Linked DNA regions of Homo sapiens: region 2 is linked to region 1. The links are contacts of gene promoters, found by promoter capture Hi-C in human tissues and cell types (Jung and others, 2019). All regions are on one chromosome and are shown on one strand. The core of a region is centred on a gene start or on the middle of the fragment in contact, and the rest is flanking DNA. Distances in the headings are between cores, read along the strand shown.

Region 1 (3,745 bases), core at 804-3,303:
GATTGCTTGATTCCAAGGCAGTTCAGGGCTACAGTGAGCCATGATGGCACCACTACAATCCAGCCTGGATGACAGTCCTGCTCCCGCCTCTTCGGCCTAGAGCAGGAGATTAGAGAACTACAAGCTGTCTCTTGAGGGAAAAAAAAAAAAAATGGTAGTAGTATTTCTACTGAATGCCTATCACTGTTGCACCATTGTAAAGTCAACCAGTCAAAAGTCTTAACCATTGAAAATTGGGACAAACTTAGTTGTTGAAAAGGAGGTTTTGATTTGGGCTTTGCCATTTACTTGTTTTCTGAGAACATATTTCTAAAAATGTACTCTTTATGTCAGTTGGAATTAAGCTGAACTGAGATGACATACTTTGAACACTTTGTAACTTGCTGCTGGTGGGTCATACCTTGGCTTTAGGTACTGAGTAGGGAAATGTCTTAAGTCCCTGTCTTGTTTAGAAAAGGGAGTTTCGGCCAGGCATGGTGGCTCACACCTGTAATCCCAGCACTTTGGGAGGCCGAGGCGGGGGAATCACGAGGTCAGGAGATCGAGACCATCCTGGCTAACACTGTGAAACCCCGTCTCTACTAAAAATACAAAAAATTAGCCAGGCATAAGGCTGGGCGCAGTGGCTCACGCCTGTAATCTCAGCACTTTGGCACGCCGAGGCGGGCGGATCACAAGGTCAGGAGATCAAGACCATCCTGGCTGACACGGTGAAACCCCATCTCTACTAAAAATACAAAAAAAATTAGCCGGGCACAGTGGTGGGCACCTGTAGTCTCAGCTACTCGGGAGGCTGAGGCAGGAGAATGGCTTGAACCCGGAAGGCGGAGCTTGCAGTGAGCCCAGATAGTGCCACTGCACTTCGGCCTGGGCGAAAGAGCGAGACTCCGTCTAAAAAAAAAAAAAAAAAAAAGCCGGGTGTGGTGGCAGGTGCCTGTAGTCCCAGCTACTGGGGAGGCTGAGGCAGGAGAATGGTGTCAACCTGGGAGGCAGAGCTTGCAGTGAGCCGAGATCGTGCCATTGCACTGTAGCCTGGGCAACAGAGCGAGACTGTCTCAAAAAAAGAAGAGAAAAGGGTGTTTCTTGGCCGGGCGCAGTGCCTTACGCCTGTAATCCCAGCACTTTGGGAGGCCAAGGCGGGCAGATCACGAGGTCAGGAGATCAAGACCATCCTGGCTAACATGGTGAAACCCCGTCTCTACTAAAAAATACAAAAAATGAGCCAAGCGTGGTGGTGGGCACCTGTAGTCTCAGCTACTTGGGAGGCTGAGGCAGGAGAATGGCGTGAACCCAGGAGGCAGAGCTCATTGCAGTGAGCTGAGATCGCGCCACTGCACTTCGGCCTGGGCGACAGCGAGACTCCATCTCAAAAAGAAAAAAAAAAAAGTAAAGAGGGTTTCTTAAGAAATATGCGGTCACCTCAGAGCTCCTCCATATATTTTGGGAGTGGGAGTGGAGTGAAGAATTTCACCAACAGTTCAGGGTCTTTCTGGCTTCTGGCCAATCTTGGGAGAGAGAAGGGGTTTTTTTCTGGACTTGATTCCCTCATCTGATAGATTCATTCTGTTCGCCCACAGCTTTCATTTCTTGGGCTGTGCTGATTATCTTCGTCTACAGCTGAAAAATGAGGAATCAGGGAATGGGAGTTAGGGAGACTGCTATCCCTGGTGCGACATGGTTTCCAGGCAGAATGCTGGAAAGGTCAGAGTGCCTCCTTTGCCAGGTAGTTCTCTGGATTGGAGAATGGTACAAACTGTTACATCCACTTGGGAGTACAGCAATGAAAAAGATGACACTTGCCTTTTAGAGGCTATTAAATGACCAATGATGTAGTAAGTGATAAGGGCCCAGCCTAGTCTAGGAGGCAGCTGCTTTTTCCTCTTTATTAATAGTCAGGGAAACCAAGCTACAATTAGAGACTTGCCCACGTTCAGACTTTGTAACACTTTTTCAAGCCAGTGGCTCCTCCCAAACGGCCGAGGTTTCCCCACCCATTCTCCTGACCTGCCCAGCCCTGTGGTTGCTGTCCAGGGAGCTAAGGCTCTCCCCAAACAAACTTGAAGATCTCACAGACCTAATAGACACGGCCTTTCCTCTCTGCCTCTGGCTTTATGTCTCTTTCATCCTCCTCTGCCTTTCCCCTGCCCTTGATCCCTTCTGCAGGTCTTGGCTGGTTTCAGGAAACGGGTCCCATCCCATGGACTCCCACTCTGGGGAGCCTGCGCTCCTGCCCTGTGGGACCTGTGACATGGTTTTCCGCTCCTCAGCTCTGTTAGCCACCCATACTCAGCGCTTCTGCATTGGCCACCCGACCCAAGAGATGACATTTGGAGCACAGGCATCAGTTGCCACTGAACCCCAGCGGGCCGCGGTAAGGGCCTCCATGGCCATGGGTGGGGATTCAAAGGAGCCAGGACCTTTATGATTCCTCATCCTACTACACCCTATCCCCAGGTTGTGCCACAAGAACACCAGGGCGTGCCACAAGAACCCCAGGGCCTCCCAGACCAGCAGGCCAGTAGATCTGCTCTAAAGAGGTTAACAGAGGAGGTAGAGCTACCTACCTTCCCCCAGGGCTCAAAACGTTGAGCGTCTTCCCCAAACCTGTAGATCATACTTGGGACAGATTCTGCCCACGCAGAGATCGCGGATCGCTGTTACCTCCAGGTGCAGTGGCTGCGGCTATCCCTACAGGAAATGCGGCCCTGGATAACAGAGGTCCCCAGGGTGTTCGCGGGGCCCTGGACACGTTCCGAGGCGCGGCCTCAGAGTCCCATGTCCGAGGCGGTGGGAAGCCCCAGCGAGCGGCTGCGGGCGCTGTTCAGGACTCGCGCGAGGCGCGTGGCGGAGATGGAAGCGCAGAGCCGGGCCCTGCAGCTACGCGGCGAGGGTGAAGGAGATGGGGGACGGGGACCAAGGACCTCCTCTGCCCTCGCCGTTTGGCTTAAGCTTGCTCGGGCCGGTTCTGACTCGGCCCGCATTCCCTCAGAACTGAGCCGACGCCTCCAAGTTGTGGCCTGTACGCGGGGCGGGATGTCCCGCCTCTTCGGCCTGGAGCAGGAGATTCGAGAACTACAAGCTGAGGCCGGGAGGACGCGGGGAGCTCTAGAGGTGTTGGGGGCCCGCATTCAGGAGCTGCAGGCGGAGCCAGGGTGAGACCCGACTAAGCGGATCCCCGGAACATGCGGCTCCGGGGTGGGAGGGGCGGGCTGGCTGCAGCCCCGGGGCCTCTGATGCGTTACCGTCTCCCTGCGCGTCGCCTGCCACCCCAGGAACCCGCTGAGCTCCCGGCGAGAGGCAGAACTTTATTCTCCAGTGCAAAAGGCCAACCCGGGAACTCTGGCTGCCGAAATCCGGTGAGAGCCGGGGCCGGAGATGGGCATAGGGCGAAGCGCTGAGCAGTTCTGGAAAGACGGCCTTCCTGTTCCCCACTCCCTAGGGCGCTGCGGGAGGCCTACATTCGAGACGGGGGCCGGGACCCCGGCGTGCTGGGCCAGATATGGCAGTTGCAGGTGGAGGCGTCTGCACTGGAGCTGCAGCGGTCGCAGACCCGCAGAGGTGAACAGGAGGGCCTCTCGCCAGCGGTGGTCAGTCCTGGGAGGAGAAAAGAACTCGAGGGAGGGCCTGTGGCTGTGGATGGCATGTGAGCTGACAAGTCCAGCCTTATCCGAAGAGCCTTAGCGCTGGAGAGCTGCTCACAGCCGGACGCGGCCAGTCACCAGAGGTCAAAGGTGACAGGTCACAC
Region 2 (3,745 bases), core at 351-2,850, 160 kb before region 1:
AAATAATCCAAACTGTGGAAAAAAAGCCCTATGTATTAAAGATGTTTTTCACAGCATTGCTTAAAAGAGTAAAAATAATTTACAAACTAATAGTTGGCCGGGTGCGGTGGCTCACACCTGTAATCCCAGCACTTTGGGAAGCCAATGAGGGCTGATCACGAGGTCAGGAGATCGAGACCATCCTGGCTAACACGGTGAAACCCCATCTCTACTAAAAATACAAAAATTAGCTGGGCCTGGTGGCGGGCGCCTGCGGTCCCAGCTACTCAGGAGGCTGAGGTAGGAGAATGGCATGAACCCGGAAGGCGGAGCTTGCAGTGAGCCGAGATCCCGCCACTGCACTCCAGCGTGGGCAACAGAGCGAGACTCTGTCTCAAAAAACAACAACAACAACAACAACAACAACAACAAAAACCTAATAGTTAAGTACTGGCCTAATAAATTATGATATCCTGTTACAATGCAACCTTATGCAACCATTAAAATGATACCAAATAAAAAGGATATAGCAACACAGAAAATGCTTTTGGCCGGGTGCGGTGGCTCATGCCTATAATCCCAGCACTTTGGGAGGCTGAGGTGGGTGGATCACAAAGTCAGGAGTTCGAACCAGCCTGGCCAATATGGTGAAACCCTGTCTCTACTAAAAATACAAAAATTAGCCAGGCATGGTGGCGTGCACTTGTAGTCCCAGCTACTAGGGAGGCTGAGGCAGAAGAATTGCTTGAATCCGGGAGGTGGAGGTTGCAGTGAGCTGAGATTGCACCACTGGGTGACAGAGCGAGACTCCATCTCAAAAAAAAAAAGAGAGAAAGAAAATACTTTCAATGTAACCTTAATTATATTAGCAATGTTCCATGTATAAATTCAAATAAACCCAAAGCATATGAAGTAATAAATGAAAATTCACTTCAGGGTAATTATTACTAGAAGTTTTGTGTGTCTGCAAAATTTTTCTATGCACACAAAATTGTATATCTCAATACTTTTACTCTTCGTGTGTCAAAAATTTTCCATGTCATTAATAGTTCTCTAAAACATTAAATGGCAGTTTGATAATGTACTATGCAAATAACTTGTAAGTATGTACTCAATATTCCCATTATTATCAGTAAAGTATGATACAATTTTGGATGCAAATAATCAAAACTCACCCAAGCTAGCTTAAGGAAAAGATATAAGCTGCTATAAGGATACTGAAGTGTTTCTCAGGATGCAGAAGTAGGAATACAAAAAGTGACTAGAATGTAGGTGAAATGCTCCAGAGAATATTTTGTCTCTACATCTTATCTCTGCTTCTCTCCACATCTCTGCCCCTATTCTCCTCTCTCTGCAGACTGGCTTTCTCTGTTTTTCAGTCTATCTGGAGGACAATAGCCGTGATACAGTTCCTAAATTTTCACACTCCTTCCATTCTAGATATCAGTCCAAACTAAACCAGAATTCCTAGGTGAGAAAGACAATACAATTGACCTAGTTTGGCCAGGTGTCTACCCCAGTCTAATCAACAGTGGTCAGTGGATCAAGGTTCTGCTTCTGAGGCTTGAATAAGAAAGGTGGTGATGTGAATCAGTTCCACTATTCTCAAAAAATGGTGAATCATTTGTGAGCTGAGAAGATACCCCAAGAGATGTCTACTATAGCCTCCATGTGTCAATTTCTCTTCTTAGAATGGATAGATTAAGTGAAATTATTAGGTCAAATGATATGAGCATTTGAAGACCAATTGCTTTCCAATCTACTTTTATTTTTTATTTATTTATTTTTTTTGAGACACAGTCTTACTCTGATGCCCAGGCTAGAGTGCAGTGGCATGATCTCAGCTCACTACAGCCTCTGTCTCCCAGGTTCAAGCGATTCTCACGCCTCAGCATCCCCCATATAGCTGGGATTACAGGTTTACACCCCCCCACCCCCAGCTTATTTTTTGTATTTTTAGGAGAGACAGGGTTTCACGATGCTAGCCAGGCTGGTCTGGAACTCCCGGTCTCAAGTGGTTCTCCCACCTCGGCCTCCCAAAGTGCTGGGATTACAGATGTGAGCCACTACGCTCAGCTCCAATCTACTTTTTTTTTTTTTTTTTTTTTGAGATGGAGTCTCGCTCTGTCACCCAGGCTGGAGTGCAGGGGTGCTATCTCAGCTCACTGCAAGCTCCACCTCCCAGGTTCATGCCATTCTCCTGCCTCAGCCTCCTGAGTAGCTGGGACTACAGGCGCCCACCACCATGCCCAGGTAATTTTTTGTATTTTTAGTAGAGACGGGGTTTCACCATGCTAGCCAGGATGGTCTCGATCTCCTGACCTCGTGATCCGCCCACTTCGGCTTCCCAAAGTGCTGGAATTACAGGTGTGAGCCACCTCGCTTGGCCCCAAAAGCTTCTTAAGCTGATAAACAACTTCAGCAAAGTTTCAGGATACAAAATCAATCACTAGCAGAAAGCACTAGCATTCCTATCCACCAACAACATCAGGTGTCTGGGCTTCCACAGCTTCTTCTTCTTGAAGTAAGTATCAATAAGATGTTTGGGGATTTTTACATTGCCGATATCAATTTTGGTTGAGGTGGCAATGACAAATTTCTGGTATGTTCTTCGTAGAGGAATTCGATTGAGGACCAGAGGTCCAGTCACAAGTAACAAACCACTAGCCAGCTGCTTCAGGAAAACCACCTTCTTGCCCCTATGGCATCCAGCGAGGATGATGAGAATGGTCCCGGGAGTGATGCTGGCTCGCAGTTTTCTCACGTGCTGACTGAAGGATTTTTTGCCATGGCTCAACAGCTTTCGAGGCACATCTTCAGTAGGATAATATCTAGGCATTTTGCGAAGTTTAACCACCCGGGCACCGCCATTCTTGTCACAACCAACTGGTTTTGTAACAGTTGCAAGAACCTTCTCCTTCTTTTTCTTTTCAACCTTAGATTTAGCGGCTGAGTACTTCCTCTTGTACATGGCCTTTCTGGAATACATGGCAGATCGGCAATACCTGCCAATTCCTCTGACAAGGACAGGGTTGCGGCTGCAATGGGGCTTTCCCTTCTTGGGCTTTTTAGCCTTGAGGTTACCCTTTTTCACCTTGCCACCAACATCAGCCTTCTTGGCTTTGGGTTTCTTCTCTTTAGCATCTGGCTTCTCAACTTTTTCACCCACCATCTTGCAAGATGGGAAACAAGTGTCTGCATTTCTTCCAGTCTGCCCACACCTGTTCTCCAGCCACTGCTGTCTCCTGCCTGGTTCCCCTCTCTGCCCTGCCACCAGTTCTTCTGGTCCTCTTCTCCTCCCTGGGAGCCATAGCTGCCTTTGGGCTATACAGGTCTCCCAGCTCTGTTTTCTGGAAAGACAATATTTGTAGAGAAAGTTCAGAGGTCCTCATTAGCAGGAGTCAACACCGCAGCAGTCTATATTGCAGAACAGAAGCTGGGCACTTACATGTGGTATCAAAGCATCAGCTGCCTGGAGAACTTTTCTTTGCTAGTGCTGCAGATAGAGCATGCAGTTATGCAGACCAAAGTTTCATTCTCCTGCCCTGCATCTCTCCATGATTTCACCCGCCCCACCCACAGACTCCAATACACAATTCAATCATTGCATTTTGTGTATGGTGTTGTCATTATCTATCTCCCCCTTAAAGTACTAACTCCGGCCGGGTGTGGTGGCTCACGCCTGTAATCCCAACACTTTGGGAGGCTGAGACGGGTGGATCATCTGACATCAGGAGTTCGAGATGAGCCTGACCAACATGGCGAA

What was found. The method cuts DNA at HindIII sites, captures the fragments that hold promoters and counts their contacts. A contact is called where the count stands out against the background at its distance.
Region 2: a contact is called between a fragment that was not itself captured here and the fragment with the promoter of CCDC17 in region 1, in 1 of the 25 tissues and cell types used here (ovary).

The regions. Positions count from the first base shown.
Region 1 is chr1:45,622,362-45,626,106 of GRCh38, reverse strand. CCDC17 (coiled-coil domain containing 17) reads left to right here and starts at 2,053. Exons shown (of 13, transcript NM_001114938.3): 1 at 2,053-2,371; 2 at 2,455-2,550; 3 at 2,668-2,890; 4 at 2,990-3,152; 5 at 3,273-3,356; 6 at 3,440-3,558. The coding sequence starts at 2,198. The HindIII fragment of the contact is 15,886 bases long and covers 1-3,745 here.
Region 2 is chr1:45,780,683-45,784,427 of GRCh38, reverse strand. It overlaps the pseudogene RPL6P1. Among named protein-coding and RNA genes, the nearest start is that of MAST2, 21 kb to the left of the region's middle. The HindIII fragment of the contact is 4,024 bases long and covers 1-3,612 here.